2 separate regions of the Homo sapiens genome follow, and region 2 is linked to region 1. Evidence: promoter capture Hi-C in 16 types of primary human blood cells and fetal thymus (Javierre and others, 2016). All regions are on one chromosome and are shown on one strand. Each heading gives the region's core, a stretch centred on a gene start or on the middle of the fragment in contact. The rest is flanking DNA. Distances are from core to core; before and after follow the strand shown.

Evidence for each region. Contacts are between HindIII fragments. The CHiCAGO score rates a contact against its expected background, and 5 or more counts as called.
Region 2: a contact is called between a fragment that was not itself captured here and the fragment with the promoter of ZNF229 in region 1, in 2 of 17 cell types (erythroblasts and megakaryocytes). The highest score is 5.3, in erythroblasts.

The regions. Positions count from the first base shown.
Region 1 is chr19:44,445,427-44,453,373 of GRCh38, reverse strand. ZNF229 (zinc finger protein 229) reads left to right here and starts at 4,902. Exons shown (of 6, transcript NM_014518.4): 1 at 4,902-5,065; 2 at 5,774-5,861. The HindIII fragment of the contact is 11,359 bases long and covers 1-7,947 here.
Region 2 is chr19:44,316,315-44,324,261 of GRCh38, reverse strand. No RefSeq gene overlaps it. Among named protein-coding and RNA genes, the nearest start is that of ZNF235, 15 kb to the right of the region's middle. The HindIII fragment of the contact is 929 bases long and covers 2,987-3,915 here.

The DNA of each region.
Region 1 (7,947 bases), core at 3,653-6,152:
ACCATGCCCAGATTTCCGCGGGAATCAGTTCCAGGCACCCATAAATCTGCACCAAACTCACCACTTTCACTGAGTTACTCCCCAGTCTGTCTCATGTCCTCACCAGCCCTCAGCGTCTCTCCTGTCTGTCCCAGCTACTCTCCCAGCATTGCCAGATATCTATCGGGGTCTGCCTCTCTCCCGCAGCAATCACTTAGAAACTCAGTGACCTCCCTGTGCTCCTCCCCAATGTGTTCCATCTCTTCATACTCATCCCCCAGAGACTCTCTGGTTTCCCCCAGCTCCACTCCAACCAGCCCCAGGTTTCTACAACAGTCAAACCGACACACCGAGGCAACACTCAGAAATTCACAGTTCCTACTGCACTCCTCCCCTATGTGTCCCATGTCTTCACCCCCACCCCCTAGGGACAGTCCCACGTTTCCCAGTTACTCTTCAGACCTCCCCACCTTTCTCAGCTAGTTAGCCTCCCATACCAAAGAAACACCTGGAAACTCAGCGTCCTCACGGGGCTCCATCCCCATGTCTCCCAACTCTGTACTCCAGGCCCTTGGCTACTTGTGTGTGTGTCCCAGCTACTCTCCCATTATCCCAAGGTTTCTGCAACACACAGCCCCCCACACCTGGGGGTCACCGAGAATCTCACAAATGTCGGTGCCCTCCTTAATCATGTCTCCCATTTGCTCATCTGCAGCCCTCAGATGCTCTCCTGTGTCTCCCAGCTCCCCTCCAGCCATCTGCAGATTTCTCTTGGAGTCAGCCTCTCATGCTCAGGGCATCACCTAGCAACCCACAGACCTCCCTGTGCTCCTCACCTCTGTCTCCCATCTCTGCATCCCCATCCCTCAGAGACTCTCCAGCATCCCCCTGCTCCTCTCCAACAATCCCCAGATTTCTCCTGGGGCCAGCCCCTAACACACAGGACTCACCTGGAAACTCACAGACCTCACCGTGCTCCTCCTGCTCCTCTCTGACCTTTGTACCGCCATTCCTTAGGGTCTCTTTCCTGTCTCCCAGCTACTCTCCAACCATCCCCAGTTTTCTGCAAGAGTCAGCCCCCAGCACACAGGAGACCCCTGGAAATTCACAGAGCTCACCAGATTCTTCCCCAACGACCTCCATCTACACAGCAGTGGCTCCCACATACTCCCCTGGGGCCCCGCACCCATCTTCTTTTACACTCAGAGCCTCGCAGGGTCTCACAGTCACTCCCCGTTATCATCATTCAGCTCGAAGTCCTTGCCATCCTCCTAGCCAACGTGATGCAGTTACCTGGCCATTTATCCACATTCCTGCTGAGGACTCCACACTCAGCCACAGAAGAGCCCTTCCCGCATTCCGGCCTCACACAAAGACCTGTCCTTTTACTTGCTACTGTCACACATTTGCTGGCAGGAGAGGCCCCTCTGATGGCCGACATCACCACCTGGGCTATCATCACCCCTCAGCTGTGCAGTGGGACCCTCCTGCCTGCTGACGTGGCTGCTGGCGCCCGTGCCAGCGTGAACCCCAAACCTGTCCGTGTTTCTGCGGGCGACGCCACCGGGGACATCCCTAGCTTGACCCCCTTTCCTGGCAGTGACACTGTCGGTATGATCCCGCGTTCTCAGATCTCTGATGTATACGTATGACTGTTTTCCCTGCGCTCGGTTTCTTCCATTCACAGGCCTTCTCATTGTCTCTCTTTCGGCCTCCATTTCAGACATTTCCTCATTCTCTTTCCCTGTGTCTGCCCCTGTCTCCACGTGGATGCCCTGGATAAGATTCACCCGTTTAAGGTGATGGATTTCTACTTCTTTGAATAATGCTGCTATGAACACTCCTGTACAATATTTAGTTTGGACAAATGTTTTCTCTTGGTTCATACCTAGGTGTGGAATTGCTGCATCATTTGGAGACTTCTATGATGTTTAACATGTTGAGGATCTTCCAGATTATTTTCCAATATGGCTGTAGATTTTGAAATTCCTACCAGCAGTGCCGGAATGTTACAGCTTCTTTACATGATCGTCAGCATTTTTTATTTTCTGTTTTTTTTTTGTGTGTGTGTGTGATTTAGTTTCACTCTTGTTGCCCAAGCTGGAGTGCGGTGGTGCGATCTCGGCTCACTGCAACCTCTGCCTCCCGAATAGCTGGGATTACGGATGCATGCTACCACACCCAGCTAATTTTTTGTATTTTTAGTAGAAAAGGGGCTTTACCATGTTAGCTAGACTGGTCTCGAACTCCAGACCTCAGGTGATCCGCCCACCTCAGCCTCCCAAAGTTCTGGGATGCAGGCGTGAGCCACTGTGCCCAGCCTATTTTCTGCTTTTCAATCCTGACCATTCTAGTGAGTGTGAAGTAGCACCATTGTTTTGACTTCCATTTCCCTAATGACTGAGGATGTGGAGAGTCATTTCATGTGTCTCTTGCCTATTTGTTTATTTTCGTTTAAGATATGTCTACGGAAATACCTTGCCTACTTAAAATTGGGTTATTTTTTCTTAACAATAACAAAACTGTTAGGGAGTCGGAAATTACAGCAGTTTCAAATTCAGTTGACACACGGTTTCTACAGTGTTTTGCAGTTTGTATGAGGTAGGATGAAGGCTGAATATTTACCTTGGGCCTTGGAATGGATTCATCTACCCACACTTTGTGCAGGTTGGCTCTTAGCTTCCAGGTCAAGACACCTTTTTAAAATAATTATTTTTATGTTTATTTTATTATTATTATTTTTTGAGATGGAGTCTTGCGCTGTCGCCCAGGCTAGAGTGCAGTGGTTTGATCTCGGCTCACTGCAAGCTCCTTCTCCCGGGTTCATACTATTCTCCTGCCTCAGCCTCCTGACTAGCTGTGACTACAGGCACCCCCCACCATGCCCGGCTAATTTTTTTTGTTTTCTTTTTTGTATTTTTAGTAGAGATGGGGTTTCACCGTGTTAGCCAGGATGGTCTCGATCTCCTGACCTCGTGATCTGCCTGCCTCGGCCTCCCAAAGTGCTCTGATTACAGGCATGAGCCACCGTGCCCGGCCAAGACACTTGATTGAATTGCTTAAGTGCTTCCCATGTGCCAGAGCCATGAAAGGTAAATAAAGAAAATAAAGAAAAAGAAGAGTCAATTATTTTGATGACTTAGAGATCTGACCATGGAGGCCATGTGAAAGGTGGTAACCAGCAATTTAAACCATGTGTTGCTGGATCCCAGAGTAATATAATTTATTGATTTCTCGGGGAAATGAGAATGTTCTGAGAGTGGTATTTAACATCCACTACACTCGCATGAAATTCTCCCAATCACAGACTGATCTGTTCATTGAATTATGATATAGAGTTCAAAAACACTCGATAGAGGAAATTATATTCAAGTTGTGTCTTAAATATGGAGTAAGATTTTAATAGTACAGGAAAGGATGGACTTACAGAGGGAAGAACAATAGCAGCAAATTCAGACATTTGTAAAACTGGAGGACACAGGATGGGAAGTAGGACTGTGTCTACCCAAGCAAAGAGGGGTGGGTTTGGAACCAAATATCTGAAGGGCTTGGATGCTTTGGAGTCAATTGGCAATTTTTTAGAATTTATCAAAACAATTCGATAATCTGTTTATAAGAGAGAGTTCTAGAACTTCTAGGATGAAATTTTTGAAACACAACAAGGAGGGAGAGATAAGGAAATGAGTTATCACTGTAACTGAAACCTTTCATCATGGCACAGAAAAAGCAATCTCTATCTTCAGAACACACTTGTATCCCAGAAAATATTTCATTATATATATAGTAATGTAGTAAGTGATTAGGATGCCGTTTAAATCAGAAAGGAAAGAATTAATATTTATGTAAATTTTGTTAAGAAAAGTAGACAATCCTTTGGTGAAACAGGAAACTCCATCTTCCTTTCATATCATACACTTAAATGAATCACGCGGTGATTCAAAAGAAAAATGAAAGAGCCTGAAATGAATATAGATATGCACTTATTGGGAATCAGGCTAAGGAATGTCTTTTTGGTCATACTGGAGAAAAAAAAGAAGCCACAAATGAAAAGACTGATATACCTTGTCAGATGAAGTTTTTTGTTTTTTTTTTTTTCTAAACTACTTTATAAATGTTGAAACTGGGGGAGCAATTCATCACTTAGAAGCGATATCATTCATACACAGAGAGTGTATGACAATAAAAGATGACAATGAAATGCAATCGGTAATAAGCATATTTACTCTGTCAAATTGGGAAAATAAGACAGGATATTTAGTCCATCAAATTGGGAAAATATTAAAGAAAGTGATTGTGTGTAGTTTTGATATCATAAAATTAGAAGTGTAAGTTCAATGCAGGACAAAGGGGTAACTTCCCTAAAAACTAAAGAATGCTAGGCAAGTATTGCAAATAATTTGTGTTTTTTTATTATCTCTATGTATCTCTACGTCTTTTGTGACATACAGAACTATCCACGATATATGACCTGTGGCAAGAAATGATTACAAAATATTATGATGCCATTTGGGAAATGGGATTCTTAAGAATTCATATTTACTCACATAAACCAGGGATTAAGTAAGAATTTTTTTTAAACCATTCTTTACATGTAATATGAACTACTTTTGAAATAAATATTTAGTTGGCTTTTACACCAGAAAATCAATAATGCTTTATATCCCTGGTGATGGGATGATGGGCTTGTTTGAGAATATAGTCAGGTTTGCTACAACGCGAATATGTTAGTACTGAGTAAAGACATTCTTTTCAACTCAGAAACACCTTGCATGCCGCCTCCCGCCGCCTCGCAGTGGGCGTGACTCGAGGTGGACGCGCATTTACGACACCATCGCCCCTAGGATCGGACTGCGCTGCGGAGGGTTCTGGGAAAGGTAGTCCCACACCTCGAGTCGACTACTTCCGTTTCCGGTGGGCGCGTCACCTTGATTGCTTCTTAGGCAGTGGTGAGGCGTCTTAGAGACGTGCATCTCCATGCGGTTGTACTGTCAGGCCATGGGAATTAGGATCGGCTCTATAGGACCAGTGTGAAGGGACAACGTGCGGCGGAGGGTCGAAGCCCACGGATTTCCATGAGCTCGGCCTGGTGAGGCAGGGGTGTAAGGAGGCGCACGTATCGAACATTCTGAGCGCCTGTGCGGGGTGGGCCCGGGTCGGCAGCCCTCGCAGTCCAGGCTTGGAAAAGCAGTTTGAGGCCAGCTCTGGCTTTGAGATGAGATCTGCAGTGCGGGAGACTCCACTGTGTCAGTTGCGGATCGATGACATGAATTTTCTCAGGGTAGCCGCCCACCCACTTGTGGAGTAATTTCAGAGTTTTCTGCGAAGTCATTTCTGTAAACAGGAAGTTGATTCCCTGTGTTCTAATTTTATCCTTTGAAATGTATTAAGCGCTGTGCAAGTCCTAGGAGTTGGTTTGCTGTATCGTTGCTGGCTCTGCTTTTTGTAGCCGCCTAAGCACACACAGGCAGAATTTCACTTGTAAGTGTCCCACAGCATGTGACAGTCAGCTCTGGATTAAAATCTTGAGATTTTGTCTTGATTCTCCTTGTCTCCTGAAAGGGGCAGTGAAAGTAGGCTTGTAGACGGTTTCTTTGGGCATCAGGAATGGCGTGTCCCTTGTACTCTGAGTCCTGTAGGAAGAGAGGTTCTTTTCCTCGGCTCCTGAAGCAAGTAGCGAGGGTAGATTACAGGAAGGGGTAGATTACATCCAGCTGGCACTGAGAGATTTCCCCCTGTGGCGTGGTGGGAATTGGGATTAAATCATGTTATCCTGCTGTTCATTTTTCTTTCACAGGCTTCCTTCTTGGAATTGTTCGTTTCTCGGAGATAATTGTATAAAAGAAGGAGAAATAACCCCACATCTCTTGACACTAGAGCTCCAGGTGAGTGAACTTTGGTTCTCTTTTGTGGCAATGCCAGGTCTCTTGGTGACCTCATTCTTCATCCCATTGATATCACAAATGTTCATTCAGACCCCTTAGCCACACCTGCCTTCCCCTAGAAATGGGGGAGGTTTGAGGAATTTCCCAGTGTCTTTATTTAGTGTATTCTCTTCTTGGCTCCTAGTAGTGTGTCACTGGGTCAGTAAAGGCTTACACTGTTTCAGCGCCATGCTGAAGAAACGCAGGGTAGAAATAATTAGAGTAACTGTGATGGTGTATATTAACTGAGTGCTTACTATATGCCAGGTATTATTTATCCATGGTGTCTAGGACAGTGCCAGGCTTGCCAATAAATATTTGAATAAATGAATGTATTTCTATTGAATTTTCTGAGCAAGTTTGTATGTTAGCTATTATCCCCATGTCACAGATGAGTTGCTAAGGTTTAAAAAGTTAAAAAAACTTAACAGGTAAGACCTGGCCAGGAGACCTTCTAAACAGAAACCAGGTCTTTGCGCTTATGCTTCCTTCTGGACTTGTCTCATCCCAGCTTTTTTCACAGCTGATTTATTTGTCAGGCAGCTCTTAGAGACTGTCCCTGACCACCTGATTTAATGTTGCTCTTTCCACAGCTGCCACATATGTTCACCTGATAGCACCTACATTCTTGTTGGAAAACAGGAATCTATCATGTTTGCTTTATTTTCTTCATAGCCCTTTTTGCAACCAAAGGTCACCTAATTTGTAGAGAGATTAACCCACCCGAAAGTAAGCACCATGAGAACAATTACCTTTTCCATCTTAATTTACTGCTGTATGTCTAGTGTTTATTCTCCTAAGATGTTGTTAGACACTGAATGTACATTTACTAAATGCATGAGTTCCTGTATTCCTAGGTTAATGCTGGGTTGGGTCAATGGTAATAGTATATTGATGATTTTCTGTGTACCACGTACTGGGCTTTGAAGTTTATTCACATAGGCATGTGTGTGTGAAAGAGAGAAAAACTTAAATTATTTTAGTTTTGCAAGTAAGGATTATCTTTATTTGACAGAAGTACAGACTCATTCAAAAGGTTAAGTCTCTCCTGTGGTGTTAATATAACTACAAAGTGGCTGAACCAGAATTCGAACCTAAACCTTTTGATAACTCCAGTTTTGAGAAACTAGAGCTGCAATTTTCAAAACCCTGCTTTCCCTTTTGCTATCTTATTATTTTATCATAACTTCATAATTTACCTGTTTTCCTCAGACTTCAACCTCAGAATCATATTTATTTCTCCTCCTCTTCATCCCTACATGGAATTATTCTTTTAGTTTTGTTATTTCTACCTCTGCAATTATCTCTTATTCCCATTACTTCTTTGTCCCACTGCCTTTGTACCAACTCTTTCTGTCACCCTCTTTCTCCCCCAATGTGAGCTCCATGCAGTCCAGAAATGTATCCTAAGCACATGGAACACAGTAGATATTCATTATGGCTGCTGATTTCCACCTAGAATGTTAGCAGCTGCATGAGCACAGAGTCGTTGTCTGCCCTGTTCACTCTTGGGTCCCAACACAGCCAGCATAGTCCTTAGCACCCAAATTACTAAGTCCATGAACTGGAGAAGAAAATCACTTCTGCTGTGAAGATGACATCAAGAGGACCCAAGGATCCATATCAGCAAGCTGAGTTCAGGTTACTCCCGTTCTCCCATTTAAATATTTATTGAGCACCTGCTGTGTGCCAGGTGCCAACTGAAATACTGGCCCTCATAGAGTTCACATTCTTGTGGGTGGAGAAAGATGGTCAACAAGAAAAATAGACTGTAGGTAGGGTGTCAGTTTCATGGAGAAAAATGAAGCAGAGGAGGGTGTAGGAAGTGCTGGTTTGCCAATTTGAGAAGGATAATGAGGGATGAATTTCACTGAGAAAATGGTGCTTGAATAGGGACCCAAAGCAGGTGAGGGGCCTGCAGGCATCTGATGAAAAAGGCAAAGAGAACAACACGAAGGCCCGGTGATGAGGGCATGTGAAGAACAGCAAGGAAGCCAGAGCTGAGCAGAATGAGAAAGAGGGAGGATAAGTGGGAAACTGAATATTG
Region 2 (7,947 bases), core at 2,202-4,701, 130 kb after region 1:
AGTGTGAAGAAAACAATACAAATAGGACAACATTGTAGGATCTAATATTTGCATACTTGGAAACCCAGGGTCGGGGGAGAGAATGGGAAGAAAAGATATTTAAAGAGATAATGGCTGAGAATTTTCCAAAAATAATAAGACTTCACCCAGATTCAAGAACGTCAGAATACCAAAGCAGTATTTTTTTAAAAAAAGAACAAAACTAGAGGTATTATTGCCCAATAGCTAAAAATGGATGGACAGTGCAAAGAAAATATTAATGGCAGACAGAGGAAAGGGACACATTACATATAAGAAGCAGAGTGAGAAAAACATCAGACTTATCATCACAAACCATGCAAGCAAAAGACAATGGAGTTACATCTTTAACATTTAGAAACAACAATAAAAAAAATGATCAATCAAAAATCTAAGCCTGGTGGAAAAAATCTTTCAGAAGGTATGCAAAATAAAGGCATTTTCAGATGAACAGAAGCTGATAGAATTCACTGTTAGCAGACCTGCACTGTAAGAGATATTTAGCATACCAGAAATAGACTTGGATCTACCAAAAGACATAACTATGAAAATAGTTATTTCAATCATTTTAAGTGTAAAATAATTTTTATTTTTATTACTCCAAAATATAATTCAGTAAAGCAAAATTAGGAATGAGGTTTTATGAATTTAGAGGACATACAAAAATAAGATGTTTCGTAAGAACACTGCAAAACAGGGAAGACAGAAATTAGAAATATACTAGCAGAAATTAGAGGTATATGGTTGTACTCTATACATGAATTGGCATAATATGATTTGAAGATAGACTGTGAAAAAATACAGGAATATATTTTAAGCCCTAGAGTAACCATTTAAGAATTTTTTAAAGTACATCTCATAAGTCAGTAGTAGAAATTAAATTCTGGTTCCAAAAATAGCAATGTAGAAGCAAGCTGGCTTCACTCCTTTCAATAGAAAACTAAAGACAAATATACAGCACCAAGATTATCACCAGCAATATCCCAGAACTCAAATAGAAGGAGACAGTTCCTGAGGACACAAATAAGTGGAAAAAACTGAGCAGATGATAAGAGAAGTGGACTTTCCTATCCACAGTGCCCTTCCCCCTAATCTGCCTGGTGCCAAGACTGTGGAAAATTTTCCCGTCTCACGGTTTCTATACTGGAAAAAGTTAATCAAGGTGGACAACCAGCCTCCTCCCCATCTTGGGTTTCCTGGCAGGAGACTTGTCCCTGACTCAACCCACAGAAAGCATCAGGAGTAACTGAAGAGAGAAATATCCCTGAGGACAGCCAGAGACAAAGGAGGGAGGTGGGAATACTGTCCCCGTCATGGAAACTCTACTCTGCAACTCAGCCAAAGGAGACAACAATCAGAGTGGCTGTTCAGCATCACTATACTGTAGGTCCCCAATCATGAACCACTAGCCAGCTTTCTTACAACTAGGATATCCCCTATGGGACCTACCCCTTTTGGGATGGGTGGCACTATGATTATTTACTAGAACTGAGGCAAACCTGGAGTTAATAGGCTATCTAGTACCAAAAAGGAGTCAGTAACCTAACGGGAAAGAAGAAAATCAACAGGTAAAATATAAAGAATCTCTAGGGAGCCATATCCAATGAAAAACAAAACCAGCCAGACAGAGAATAGTGGAATGTATAATCATTCGATGCAAAGACAGACACACATCCATAAGCAACAACAGCAAACGGGGAGCCATGGCATCCCACAAATGGACAAAGCAAGGAACCAGTGACTGATCCTAACAGGAAGACGATATGTGAACTCTCTGACCAAGACTTCATAAGAGCTGTTTTAAGGAAACTCAGTGATCTCCAAGATAACACAGAAAAGCAATTCAGAAATGTATCAGAGAACCTGAACAGAGAATAAAATAATTTTTTAAAATCAAACAGAAATCTTGGAACTGAGAAATATGTTTGCTGCACTGAAATATCCATTAGAGGCTCTCAACAGCAGAATGTATCAAGCAGAAGAAAGAATCAGTGAGCTCCAAGACAGGCTATTTGTGAATACACAGTCAGAAGAGAACAGAGAAAGAAAAAGAGCAAATATTGACTGAAAGAGATAGAAAATATCTCAAATGACCAAAACTAAGAATTACTGCTGTTCAGGAGGGAGTTGAGCAAGAGCAAGGAGTAGAAAGTATATTCAACAAAATAACAGAAAACTTTCCAAAATTTAAGAAAGAGATGAATATCCAGGTACAGGGAAATCATAGAACAGCAAACAGATTTGACCCAACTAAGACTACCCCAAAGCATATAATAAACTCTCATAGGTCAAGGAGAAAGAATTATAAAAGCAGCAAAAAAAAAAAAAAAAAAAAAAAAAAACAAGCAAATGACATATAAAGGAGCTCCAATTCATCTGGCAAAAGACTTCTTAACAGAAGCCATATAGGCCAGGAGGAAGTGCAGAGACATTTTCAAAGTGCTGAAATTAAAAAAAAAAAAAAACTATCATCCAAGAATACTGTATCTAGCAAAGTTATCCTTCAAATATGAAGGAGAGATAAAGTCTTTCCAAGATAAACAAAAGATGAGAGAATTTACCACAACAGACTTCTAAGAAAGGTTCAAGGGAGTTTCCAATGTGAAAGAAAAAGCTACTAATGTGCAAAATGAAAGCTTCTGAAACTGTAAAACCCAGTGGTAAAGTTAAGTACACAGACAAACCAAGAATAGTATTGTAATTGTGATGTGCAATCCACTCATAACTAGTATGTAGCCCAAAAGAAATCTATCAAAAAGAATAATAGCAAGAGCAATTTGTTAAGAAATAGGTAATATAAAAATATGTACATTGAGACAACCAAAAATCAAAAGGTGGGACGGATGGGAGTTAAGTGTAGAAGTGTTTCTTCTTTTCATTTTTCTTTGTTTCTATTACTTGTAATCTAAGATAAGTTGTCATCTCTTTAAAATAACCTGTTATATCTATAAAATGTATTTTGTAAGCTTTATGGTAAACACAATACAAAAACCTATAATAGATTCACTAAAAGTAAAAAGCAACAAATTAAAACATACTGTTAACCACAAAGGAAGACAGAAAAATGAAGACTCTTAAATATTTAAGCAAAAAAAGAAGACAGTAAGAAAGGAAGAAAGAAAGGGAGGAGTTACAAAACAACCAGAAAACAAGCAACAAATGGCAGTAGTAAGTCCTTACTAATCAATAATAACACTGAATGTAAATTGACTCATCCTCTGATTAAAAGACATAAAGTGGCTGAATGGATAGAGAAACAAGACCCAACTATATGCTGCCTGCAAGAAACCCACTTCACCTGTAAAGACACACATAGTCTAAAAGTGAAGGGGTGGAAAAAGACATAGCTTGCAACAGGCAACGAAAAAAGAGCAGGAGTAGCTATACTTGTATAAGATACAATATAGACTACAAATCAAAGACTGTAAAAAAGACAAATAAGGTCACTATAAAATGATTAATGGGTCAATTCAGCAAGATGATATAACCATTATAAATATCTATGCATTCAACACCAGAACTCCGAAGTTTATAAAGCAAACATTAATAGATCGAAAATAAGAGATATATGGCAAAATAATAATAGTAGGAGACTTTGACATCCCACTCTCAGCAATGGACAGATCATCCAGACAGAAAATCAACAAAGAAACATTGAAGTTAGGTCACACACTAGACCTAATAGACATAACTGACATTTACAGATCATTTCACCCAATTGCTGCAGAATAGATGTTCTTTTCATCAGTACATGGAACATTGTCCAGAATAGACTATATCTTAGGCCACAAAACAAATCTCAACAAATTAAAAAAAAAAGAGAGATTATATTCAGTATCTTTTCTGACCACAGTATAATTAAACTAGAAATCAATAACAAAAAGGACATTGGAAGCTTCACAAACAACATGGAAATTAAACAGCATGCTCCTGAATGACCAGTGAGGCAATGAAGAAATTAAGAAGGAAATTTAAACATTTTTTGAAACAAAGAAAATAGAAATACAACATGGCAAAATCTATGGGATACAGCCAAAGCAAAACTTAGAGGTTTATAGCAACAAACATATATCAAAAAGGTAAAAAGATTTCAAATAACAACCTAATGATGCACCTCAAGGAACTAAAAAAGTAAGAACAAACCAAATCCAAAATTAGTAGAAGAAAATAAATAAAGATCAGAGCAGAAATAAATAAAATTGATAATGAAAGAAGAATACAGAAGATAAATGAAAGAAAAGTTGGGATTTTAAAAAGATAAACAGAAATCATCAAACCTTTGGCTAAACTAACCAAGAAAGAAAGAAGATCCAAGTAAATAACATCAGAAATGAAAAAGGAGACTTAACAACTGAGACCACAAAAATAAGAATCATTAGAAATAAGAATCATTAGAGACTGTGATGAACAATGATACACTTTGGAAAACCTAGAAGTAATGAATAAATTCCTGGACACATGCAATCGACCACAGTTGAACTATGAAGAAATAGAAAACCTCGATAAACCAGTAACAAATAATGAAATTGAAGCCATAATAAAAAGTCGCCTATCAAGGAAAAACTCATGACCTAATGGTTTCACTGCTAAATTCTACCAAACATTTAGAGAACTAATACCAATTCTACTCAAACTCTTCACAAAAATTGAAGAGAAGGGAATAATTCCAAATTTATTCTATGGGGCCAACAGTATCCTGATACCAAAACCAGAAAAGGACACAATGGAAAAAAAAACTGCAGGACATTATCACTGGTGAACATAGATGCAAAAATTTTCAACAAAATACTAGCAAACTGAATTCAGCAACATATTAAAAAGATCATTCACCAACATATTAAAAAGATCATTCACCATGATCAAATGGGATTCATCCCAAGGATGCAAGGATGATCCAGTATATGCAAATTGATAAGTGTGATACGTCACACTAACAGAACCAAGAAGAAAAACCATCTGATTATTTTGATAGATGCTAAAAATAAACATTCAATATAATTTAACATCCCTTTATGATAAAAATCCTCATCAAACTGGGTGTAGAAGGAACATACCTCAGAATAATAAAAGTTATATATGACAAGCCCACAGCTAACATTGTGCTGACAGGGAAGAATTGAAGGCCTTTCCTCTAAGATCTTGAAAAAGACAAGGATGCCTAATCTCACCACCTTTATTCAATATAGATAGTACTGGAAATCCTGCATAGAACAATTAGGTGGGAGGAACACTGAGAAAACTTTAGCACTCCAGTTCCCAGAGAAATTAAAGGGCATCCAAATTGGAAAGGAAGAAGTCAAATTAGTCTTGTTGACAGATGACATGTTATTAAAAATGGAAAATACTAAAGACTATCAAAAACCATTAGAACTGATAAGAAAATTGAGTAATGTTGCAGGATACAAAATAAACATAAAAAATCAGTATTATTTATATATGCCAACAGTGAACAATCTGAAATCAAGAAAGCAATCCCATTTACAATAGCTACAAAGAATATACAATACCTAAGAGTGAGTTTAACCAAAGTAGTGAAAGAACTATCCAAGGAAAACTCTAAAACACTGATGAAAGAAATTGAAAAGGACACAAAAAATAGATAGCCCATGCTCATGGATTGGAATAATTAATATTGTCAAAATGACAATATTACTCAATGCAATTTACAGATTCAATGAAATTCCTATGAAAATACTAATGACAGGCCAGGCACAGTGGCTCATGCCTGTAATCCCAGCACTTTGGGAGGCCAAGGCAGACCAATCACGAGGTCAGGAGATTGAGACCATCCTGGCTAACATGGTGAAACCCTGTCTCTACTAAAAAATGCAAAAAATTAGCCGGGCATGGTGGCGGGCACCTGTAGTCCCAGCTACTTGGGAGGCTGAGGCAGGAGAATAGCGTGAACCTGGGAGGCAGAGCTTGCAGTGAGCCAAGATTGCGCCACTGCACTGTAGCCTGGGCGACAGAGCAAGACTCCTTCTCAAGAAAAATAATAGTGATAAATTTAATTTAATTTAATTTAATTTAATTTAAAAAAAGAAAATACTAATGACATTCTTCACTGAAATAGACAAAAACAATTCTAACATTTATATGGAACCACAGAAGATGCCATATAGCCAAAGGCAACTCTGAGCAAAAGTAAGAAAGCTGGAGGCAGCACACTATCTGACTTCAAAATATACTACAAAACAACAGCAACTGAAACAGCATAGTACTGGCATAAAAACAGACACATAGACCAATGGAAAAGAATAGAGAGCTCAAGTATAAATCCATGCATTTATAGTTAACTCATCTTTGACAAAGGCACCAAGAACATACAATGGAAGAAAGGTCAGTCTCTTCAATTAATAGTGCAGGGAAAACTGAATATATGCAAAAGAATGAAGCTAGACCCTTATCTCACCTTCACAAAAATCAGATCAAAATTGATTAAAGACTTAAATATAAGACCTAAAACTATAAAACTACTATTAATAGAAGAAAACATTGGGGAAATGATTCACAACATTGATATGGGCAAAGATTTCAGTAGCACCTCAAAAGCACAGGCAGCCAAAGTGAAAATTAACAAATTGGATTACATCAAGCTAAGAATCTTCTGCAGAGCAAGGGAAACAATTTAAAAAGTGAAGAGACAACCCACAGAATGGGAGAAAATATTTGCAAACTGACCATCTGACCAGGGATTAAGACCCAGAATATATAAGGAGCTCAAACAACTCAATAGCAAAAAAGCCAAATAATCAGATTTTTAATGGGCAACAGATCTGAATAGATGTTTTCAAAAGAAGACATACAAGTGACCAACAGGTATAAGGAAAAAAATGATCAATATCAGAGAAATCCAAATCAAAACCACAGTGAGATCTCATCTCACTCCAGTTAAAATTACTTTTATCAAAAATACAGGCAATAATGGATGATGGTGAGGGTGTGGCAAAAGGGGAATGCTTGTACACTGTTGGTGGGGATGTAAGTTGGTACAATCACTATGGAGAATAGTATGGAGGTTTCTTTAAAAACTAAAAATAGAACTACCATACAGTCCAGCAATTCCAGTACTGGGTATATATTCAAAGAAAGAAAATATATCAAAAAGACACCTGCAATCTCATGTTTATTGCAGCACTATGGACAATAGGCAAAATATGAAATCAACCTAACTGCCCATTAATGGATGAATTGTATATATGCACAATGGAATATTCTTCAGCCATAAAAAAGAATGAAATACCATCTTTCGCAGCAACATGGATGGAACCGGGAGTAATTATATTAAATGAAATAGGCCAAACACAGAAGGACAAATAACATATTCTCAATTATATATGGAAGCTAAAAAAAGTGGATCTCATGAAGATAGAGAGTAGATTGCTGGTTGCCAGAGGCTGGCAAGGGTAGTAGGGAGGAGGGATGAAGAGAAGTTGATTAATGGGTACAAAAATATGGTTTGATAGAAGAAATAAGACCTAGCAGTAGATTAGTAGGGTGACTATAGTTTACAGTAATCTATTGTATATTTCAAAATGGCTAGAAGAGAAGCATTAGAATGGTGCTAGCATAAAGAAAGGACACATATTTCAGGTGATGGATATTCCAAGTACACTGATTTGATTTTTACAAATTACATAAATGTATTAAATTATCATAAAAATAAGAAACAAAACAATAAACTGAGAAAAAAATTTAAATGACCTACAACCTAATTTTTAATGCCTGCATGGTATTCTTGTGTATTAATGTGTTATTTTTACTTAACCAATTTCTTACTATTGAAGGCCTGTTTACTGTTTTTCACTCTTCTAAACCACAATGCAATAAAAACCAGAGAAAAATAAGTTTCATCTCTTTATATTCATCATCTCCATAGAACATTTAAATGTGTGGTTGTTGAGTGAATAGACGTGTTTTAAATTTTAT